2 separate regions of the Homo sapiens genome follow, and region 2 is linked to region 1. Evidence: promoter capture Hi-C in human tissues and cell types (Jung and others, 2019). All regions are on one chromosome and are shown on one strand. The core of a region is centred on a gene start or on the middle of the fragment in contact, and the rest is flanking DNA. Distances in the headings are between cores, read along the strand shown. Region 1 holds the start of FLCN (folliculin). Region 2 overlaps TNFRSF13B (TNF receptor superfamily member 13B).

Region 1 (4,603 bases), core at 659-3,158:
ATAAGAGTAAAACTCCATTTCAAAAAATACAAAATACGAAAATTAGCCAGGCCTGGTGGCACGTGCCTGTAGTGCCAGCTACTCAGGAGGCTGAGGCAGGAGAATCGTTTGAGCCTGGAAGCGGAGGTGGCAGTGAGCCGAGATCGCATCACTGCACTCCAGCCTGGGCGACAGAATGAGATTCTGTCTCCAAAAAAGAAAGAAAGAAAGAAAGAAAGCAAAAGCACTTGTCAGACGAGAGCTCTGACTCTGACTCCATGGATCATGTGCACCAGAGGCCCAGGCAGCCCCTGAAAGAGAGGGAGGTGCCCTACAGAGCACTTAGCTTTGCGGTCACCGGAGCCTGCCCTCACCAGCCAGGTGACACCAAGTGTTACTAGACCTCTCTGAATACCACCCAAAAGCTGAGAAACAGAGGCCTCTCAGAATTCGCATTACACATGGAATCAGAATTCTGGGCAGCGTGAGGTCATTCTTCACTCACTGTTCAATTCCAATCTCTACCAGGTGTTTGCTGAAGAAAACAAACTGGTTTGAGTGTGTCTCACGAGTCTGTTTCCAACAAGCTTTCCAGAACCCACATAGGAAGCCGAAATGCCCTGGCTGACAGTCTCTTCATCAACATATCCAAAGACAGTATTCAAATTCCCTGATGTGGTAGAGTGTCTGTTCATGTCCCCCTCCCACAATGGCTGAGTCCCAGACCTGGACAGTGACCTCACCACCACCCGTGGTGCGCCCTGGCCCTATTTCAACCCTACTTCCTATGGTGTTCTCATAGCACCGTGGAGAATTAAAGAGGCCACTAAGTAAGGGCACTCTAAATAAACAAAGCACTATAACGGATCTTAACCAGCAGTGGACACACAGCTTCTATAACTAGTCTCCCACTGGGGAGCCTCATTAAGTTAGCAGCTGGGATCCCAACAAGCCCAGGGTGAAAAGTTCTGCAGGGGATGACTGCCAGTTCAGATCCACTCTCACTGTGGCTCTATTTCCACCGTTTCCCTGGATTTCCATTCACAGAGCTCCCTGACATAGGACACTAGAAGGGCAAACGCAGTGTCACCTGCCACTATTACTCAATTACTTGATGACCACGGTGATAATCTGGCACTAAACTGGCTGTGGCCAAAGGCTAGAGAGCCAGAACCTACTTCCAGCAAGCTCCTCCTTGCCCTGTGTCCCCACTTGAAGAGACTGCTAGTGACCACACCTTGGACTTCAATCCACAAGCCAATCCATTCTTTCCAGGAGACAAGGACGCGACTGACAGTACTCTCAACTGGAGAGAAGCGCGGTCTTCCACCCTCCCTGGAGGACACGGTGCTACCCTATTAGCGCATCAGAGGACCCTCCTGAACGCCAAACTGGGAGAAGAGGATGACACACACCCTCTCCTCCAAACAGAGCGAAGACAAAACCTGGGAGAAGGGAAGGCAAACAGTCCCGTTTCATGGCAACATCAAATGAGATCACAGTCCTCATCCCCATAGACTTGGTTAATGGGCGTGCCCCCAACCTATCTTCAAATCTCAGGGTCTCGGCGACGCCCTGGACTCTGGCCCTAAACCCTCCCCCATTACTCGTCCACCTGGGACCAACGAAAACTCGGACATGCCCCTCCGCCAACCCCTCAGACCCCCGCCTACCTGCTCCCCAAATCGAGGCCCGCGGGACACCTGGACTCGGCAGCCGGGGTCCCGCTCTGGGTCCCAGCCCCGCCCCTGACTGCGCTGGGTAGGTGGTCGCTGCGGGACCCGGACCGGCGGAATCACACCCAGAGCCCCCAAGCCCACGGCAGGGATGTCACCCGGGGTGGCGAGGCTCTCAAGCCCGGGTTCAGGCTCTCAGGGGAGCTGGCAGAACCAGGAGCGACCACACTCACTCGCGGTCCCGCAGCCCCGCCGACACCCAGGCGCGTGACTCCCTGAGCCGTACCACCACCCAACACTGCGGTGGGGGTGCGGGAGCCGTCCGAGCGCGTCCTGCACCGCGAGGAGAGCCGGGCCTCCCTAGCTCTCGCAAGCCCAGGAACACAGTCCGAGTCCTACAACTCCGAGGTCTGACTGGGAAGCAGGGGCCGCTGCCCGACAATTACCCTTTTCCACCGCCCCTATTCCGGTGCCCCCCTCTGGGAAGTTCCGAATGGTTCAGACCGCACCAGCTGGGGATGCTGGGGGAAACCATTTCATTAAGCGCGGGAGTATGCTGAAACTTAAAAATCATTTTAAAAAGAGATTTGAGGGTAAATATAGCCAACCTAAGGCTTCCTGTCCACATAAAAGAGAAAAATAAAGAAAAAACGTTATAAGAGGTTGGCAGGCTTTTTTTTTTTGCTTCACCAATGGTTTTTATTAAATTGCTGATGGAACCCGTCCTCTCCCTACATTGAGAGTATGGAAGGTGCGGGAGACGGCCGTCACGTGACGCGGAGAAGGCGCGGCGCCCGTGGGAGGTTGGTTGCAGAACTCGGAACCGCTGTGCGCGCGCATGTGTGGGATTCGGTCTTCCTCCCTCAGTGGGTCTTTTTTAAAAATGTGAAAATCAGTTTTTGAATAATATTCTTTTTTTGAGACAGAGTTTCGCTTTCGCTCTTGTTGCCCAGGCTGGAGTCCAGTGGCGCGACCTCGCCTTACTGCAACCTCCGCTTCCCGGGTTCAAGCGATTCTCCTGCCTCAGCCTCCCGAGTAGCTGGGGACTACAGGCGTCCGCCACCACGCCTGGCTAATTTTTTGTATTTTTGCAGAGACGGGTTTTCACCCTTTTGGCCAGGCTGGTCTTGAACTCCTAACCTCAGGTGATCCACCAGCCTCGGCCTCCCAAAGTGCTGGGATTACAGGCGTGAGCCACCGCGCCCGGCCTGAATAATATTTTTTAAAACTAGAGCGCCCATTACTAAATTTAGCTACTTAGAAGTTAATTGTAAAGCCATTAGTTTGTGATGTAGTGTGGGTCCTTCCAGTGAAGACCGGAGAGAGATGGGAATCAGAGCCTGACCCGCCTGTGCGCGCTGCCCCCTGAGGTGTGGCTGCCCCCTGAGGTGTGGCCGCCCCGGAGCCTTCCGCCGCGGCCGAGGCTATGGTTGCCGCAGAGTCTCCAGAATGTGCTCACCAGGAATAGAATAGAAAAGTGGGTGGTTGTGTTTTTGAAATCAGAAGTCACTTATTTTTTTCTCTTTAAATTTCCATGTTCTGGTCGGGCGCGGTGGCTCACGCCTATAATATCCCAACACTTTGGGAGGCCGAGGTGGGCGGATTACGAGGTAAAGAGATGGAGACCATCCTGGCCAACAGGTGAAACCCCCTCTCTACTAAGAATACAAAAAAAATTAGCTGGGCGTGGTGGCACACGCCTGTAGTCCCAGCTACTCTGGTGGCTGAGGCAGGAGAATTGCTTAAACCCGGGAGGCAGAGGTTGCAGTGAGCTGAGATCGTGCCACTGCACTCCAGCCTGGCACAGAGCGAGACTCCATCTAAAAAAAAAAAAAAAAATCCATGGTCTGTTGAAAACGGGACACGAGAAAAGAACGAAAGTGCAGCTTGTGTTTTCTGCCGTCTTATAGTGGCTTGGTAAAGATTAAGGAATATGGGGTGGCGTTACGAGGTTAGGCATTGCCTTTATGTGTTTAATTATTCTTATCAAGCGAATTCCTCTTGCTGTTGGACAGCGCAAACTTAATTTCTGAGGAGGTAGTAAGTTACAGGGTGATTTTATTTTATTTTATTTTAGAGACGGAGTCTTGCTATGTCTCCCAGGCTGGAGTGCAGTGGCGCGATCTCGGCTCACTGCTACCTCCACCTCCCGGGTTCAAGTTCTTGAAACTAATGTTTGTTAATGAGATTTTTAAGTCAAGAACAAGGTTTTTTTCACCTTGTAACTTTAATTCCAGGAATTACCTTTTTCAGTTTGTTAGTGGAGTTCACCACCTTGCTCAGATTATCCTTATTTCCATGGTGATAGGCTAATGGCGGAAGGTTATTCAACTAGTGTATTTTCAGTAAAAGTCAATGTGCATTTACCACACCTGGGCTCAATTTAGGCCATTAACATCTTTCCCAACACCACTGGCTTCAGCCACCTACCTCTTTTGGAGGTACTTTCTTAAATAAACCTATAAATCTTTAAAAAAAAAATTAACAACTGCCAAATCTTTGCCTCAGTGAATTGTACCAAAGGTTATTTAAATTGGGCTCTCATGGGGTATAAAAACTTTCAAGGTCATGCAACAAAAGGGACATCTTAGAAGTCGGAAAATGTGCCCATTCTCATGGGAAAGATAATTGAAACTCAGCAGTAATGTTCAGAAAGCACAGATACCAATAATGTTCAACAATTCACAACCAAATGAAATGCAATGCTAATCTCAAAGCTTCTATCCCATAATGGAAATTGTATGAAATGATTCCAGAAGCTCTGGATATGTTACTGCCTGGCATGCATACAATCCAGAATGTGTTTTTTCCACCACTGAAACAGGCTCAATCAGAATTAAGATTTTTTTCCACCACTGAAATAGGCTCAATCAGAATTAAGGTTTTTTGATGCTTTTCTGCCTTCTTACTACTGCTAAACCAAGAGGCTTCATTATAGCTGAGTATCC
Region 2 (4,603 bases), core at 1,460-3,959, 280 kb before region 1:
CTAATGTATGCTCATAGAAGTTACAGAAGGAGAAGGGACAAAATGGCAGAAAAAGTATTTGAAGGAATAATGGCCCCAAATTTCCCAAATCTGAGAAGACGTGAATATACTCATTCAGGAGTCTCAATAAATTTGATGCAGGAAAACCTCAAAGAAGCCCACACCAGGACATATTACAATAAAATCAAGGAAACCCAAGGCCAGAGAGAATTGTGAAAGCAGCAAGAGAGAAGCAACTTCTTGTGTACAAAGGATCATCAATACGGTAACAGCTGATTTCTCCTAAGAAACCATGGCAGCCAGAAGGTAGTGAAATGATATATTTAAAGTCCTCAAAGAAAACAGTAAGCTGTCAACCAGGAATTGTATATAATTTTAAATCACCTTTCAATAATGAAGGAGAAATTATGACTTTTCCAGATAAACAAAATCTGAGCAGTGCATTATCAGTAAACTTGCCCTACAAGAAATCCTAAAGTGAGTCTTTCATGCTGAAATAAAAGTACTCTAGACGGTACCTTGAAGACATAAGAAAAAGTGAAGTAAATATAAAGGTAACTAAATAAGTAACTATAAAAGCCAGAATTATTTTACATTTTGCATGGTTTGTAACTCCTATTTTTTTTCTATATGATTTAATAGGCAATGAGTTAAACAGTGATTGCAAACCTATGTTAGTGGTCATAGAGTGTACAAAGATGCAGTATGTGATAATCACAATATAAAGGGAAAGGCAGGGACATACAGGAGCAAAGCTCTTATGACCTACCGAAACTAAGTTGATATTATTCAAACTAGGACGTCATAAGTTTAAGATATTAATTGTAATCCCCAAGAAAATAACTAAAATATGTATAGAAAAAGAAAGAAAAAGGGACTCAAAGTGGCCCACTACAAAAAAAATGAACAAAATACAAAAATGAAGTAATTGAAGAAACAAAAACATGTAAGACATACATAAAACAAATATATAAATGGCTGAAGTAAATCTTTATCAGTGATCATATTAAATGTAAATGAACTAAACTCTGCTAGTAAAAAAAAAAATTGGCAGATTGGATTTAAAAACCCACAGGCTTCATGTATATTCAGTGTATAAGAGACTTACTTTAGATTAAAAAAAAATACAAAGCCAGAATTATTTTACTTTTTGCGTGGTTTGTAACTCCAATTTTTTCCTATATGATTTAATAGGCAATGAGTAAAATAGTGGTAAAATAGAAGTTGAAAGTAAAAGAATGGAAAAGGTATTTTATGCAAATAGAAAGCAAAAGAGAGCTGGGGCAGCTATACTGTTGTCAGACAAAGCAGACTTTAAATCACAAAAAAATTACAAAAGACAAAGAAGGACAATATATATTAATAAAGGGGATACAGCATAAAGATGTAACAATTATAAATGTATACACACCTAATGACAGGGTTCCAAAATATATGAAACAAAAATTGACAGAGTTGAAGGGAGTAATAGATAGTCCTACACTAATATTGGGATATTTCAGTACCTCACTTTCAATAATAAGACAGAACTACCAGACACATAAATAAGAAAATAGAGGACATCAAGAACACTATAAACCAATTAGACATCACAGACATATAGACAACGCTCAATGCAACAACAGCAGAATACACATTCTTTTCAAGTGCACATGGAACATTCTCCAGGATAGACCTTATGTTCAGCCACAAAACAAGGCTAAACTTTAAAATTTTTTAATTTTTTAAAATTAAAATTATTCAAAGTTTCTTTTCTGATCATAGTGGTATAAAACTACAGATCAATAACAGAAGGAAAATTGGAAAATTCACAAATATGTGTAAATTAAACAACACGCTCTTCAACAACAAATTGGTCGAAGAAGAAATGACAGGGGAAATTATAAAATATCTTGAGACAAATGAAAATGAAAATACAACATACCAAAAGTTATGAAATACAACAAAAGCAATGCAAAGAGGGAAATTCATGTAAATACATACACTGAAAAAGAAGAATCATAACCTGATCATAACTAAATCATAACCTAATTATATACCTTGAGGAAATAAAAATAGAACAAACCAAATCCAAAAATAGCAGAAGGAAAGAAATAATGAATACTAGAGCAGAGATCAATAACACAGAGAATGAAAAAACAATAGAGAAAATCAACAAAACCAAAAGCTCCTCTTTGAAAAGATCAACAAAATTGACAAACCTTTAGGTAGACTGACTATGAAAAAGAGAGATGACTCATATTATTAAAATCAGAAATGACATTAAGAACTTTATTACTTATTTTACAGAAATAAAAAGGATTATAAAAGAATACTATAAACAATGGTACACCAACAAATTGGATAACCTAGATAAAAATGGACATATTCTTAGAAATACACAATCTACCAAAACTGATGAATGAACAGAAAATTTGAATACTCCTATAACGAGATTGAATCAGTAATCAGAAACCTACCAGTGACAAGCTCAGGACAAGACTGCTTTACTAGTGAATTCTACCAAAACATTTAAAAAAGAATGAACACCAATTCTTCTGAAACTCTTCCCAAAAACCAAAGAGAAAAGAACACTTCCTAACTCATTCATGAAGTCAGCATTACACTAATACAAAATTACAATAAAGATGTCACAAGGAGAGAAAATTACACACGAATATGTCTTATGTATACAAATTGAACCCAATGGCACATGAAAAGTTTATTCACCATAACCAAGTGGGATTTATTTTTGGAGTGCAATGGTAGTTCCACACTAAAGGAATGAATAATAAAACTTAGTGGTCTTCTCAATTGATGCAGAAAAAGCACTTGACTAAATCCAACTTTTTTTAATGATAAAAACACTTGAGAAGCTAGGAATAGAAAGTAACTTTCCTATCATGATAAAGGCCATATTTGAGATCCCACATTCTCAATGGTGAAAGTGAAAGCTTTGCCCTAAGATCAGAACAAGGCCAGGATACACACATTTGCCACTTCTTTTCAACATAGCACCAGGAGAACTAGCCAGAGCACTTAGACAAGAAAAAGAAATAGAAGTATCCACAGTGGAAAGGAGAGCATAAGATTATCTCTGTTCACAGATAACCCGATCTTATATGTAGAAAACCCTAACAATTCCATTCAATGGGGAAAAGGACAGTCTCTTCCATAAATGATGCTGAAAAAATTGGATATTCACATGCAAGAGAATGAAATTGAATGCTTACCTAATGCCACATACAAAAATTAACTCAAAATGGACTAAGTGCTAAAACTATAAAACTTTTGGAAGAAAACATAGGGGAAAATCTCCATGCACTAAATTTGACAATGATATCTTGGATACAGCACCAAAGGCATAGGCAATGAAAGGAAAAAATTAGATAAATTGGACTTCATCAAAATTTAAAACTTTTGTGCACCAAAGGACACTATTGAGAGAGTGAAAAGACAACTCACAGAATGGGAGAAAATATCTTCAAATCATATACCTAATATGGGGTTAATATCCAGAATATATAAAGAACTCCTAAAACTCAACAACAAAAAACCAAACAACTCAAGTCAAAACTGAGCAAAAGGCTTGAATCAGCATTTCTCCAAATAAAACATTCAAGTGGTCAACAAGCACAAGAAAAGATGCTCAACATCATTAGTCATTAGGGAAATGCAAATTAAAACCACAATGAGATATCATTTCACACCCATTAGGATGGCTATTATTAAAAATGGAAAATAAGCAGCGTTAGAGATCTGAAGCAAGTGGATGTGAAGGCACTGCTCATGGGAATGTATAACAGAGCAACAGCTGTGGAAAAGTCTGGCAGATCCTCAAAAAGACAAACATAAAACTACCACAAGACCCAGTAATTCCACTCCTAAGCAAACATCCAAAAGAACTGAAACAGGGATGTGAACAGATACTTGTGCCCCAACATTCAGAACAGCATATTCACAACAGCCAAAGGTGGAAACAGCCCAATCGTTTATCAGCACATGAATGGACAAAGAAAATATGTTACAGGTACACAGGATACTATGATGTTATTAAAATGAATGGAATACTTATACATGCTACAATGTGGATAAACTTTGAAGATATTATGCTAAGTGAAATAAGACAGTCATAGAGAGACAAATATTGTACAATTTCCCTTACCTGAGGGAAGTAGAAGAGGCAAATTCACAGAGTTAGAGAGTAAAATAGAGGTTAGCACAGGCAGCCGTTATTGATTAATGGGGTACAGAATTTCTTTCTGGGGCCATAAAAAAGTTTTGGATATAGATAGTGGTGCTTGTGCATGTACGTAATGCCACTTCATTGAATATGTCATGATGATTAAAATGATAAAAGTTTCATTATATATATTTTACCAGCAAAAAGTGGAAGTAGAAAGCAGAAAGTAAGCAGAAAATGGAGCAATGCCTTAAAGTTTAGGATAGAAAGTTATTTTCAGTCTAGAACATTGTTATCTATCAAGTGCGAGGTAGAATAAAGACGTTCTCAGACATGCAAGATCTTGGAAGCTACTGGAGGGCTTGCTCCACTGAATCTGGGGAGTGGCCAAAAAAACCACGGGTAGAACAGGACCCCTGTCAGCAGAGAGGAAGATGGACA

The links. The method cuts DNA at HindIII sites, captures the fragments that hold promoters and counts their contacts. A contact is called where the count stands out against the background at its distance.
Region 2: a fragment that was not itself captured here is called in contact with the fragment with the promoter of FLCN in region 1 in 1 of the 25 tissues and cell types used here (mesenchymal stem cells).

Annotation. Positions count from the first base shown.
Region 1 is chr17:17,235,260-17,239,862 of GRCh38, forward strand. It overlaps FLCN (folliculin), which reads right to left and starts at 1,909. Exons shown (of 14, transcript NM_144997.7): 1 at 1,653-1,909. RefSeq lists an enhancer at 2,126-2,235 and a silencer at 2,670-2,855. The HindIII fragment of the contact is 7,502 bases long and covers 1-4,603 here.
Region 2 is chr17:16,957,377-16,961,979 of GRCh38, forward strand. The region is part of intron 1 of TNFRSF13B (TNF receptor superfamily member 13B); the gene reads right to left. Among named protein-coding and RNA genes, the nearest start is that of TNFRSF13B, 12 kb to the right of the region's middle. The HindIII fragment of the contact is 3,635 bases long and covers 893-4,527 here.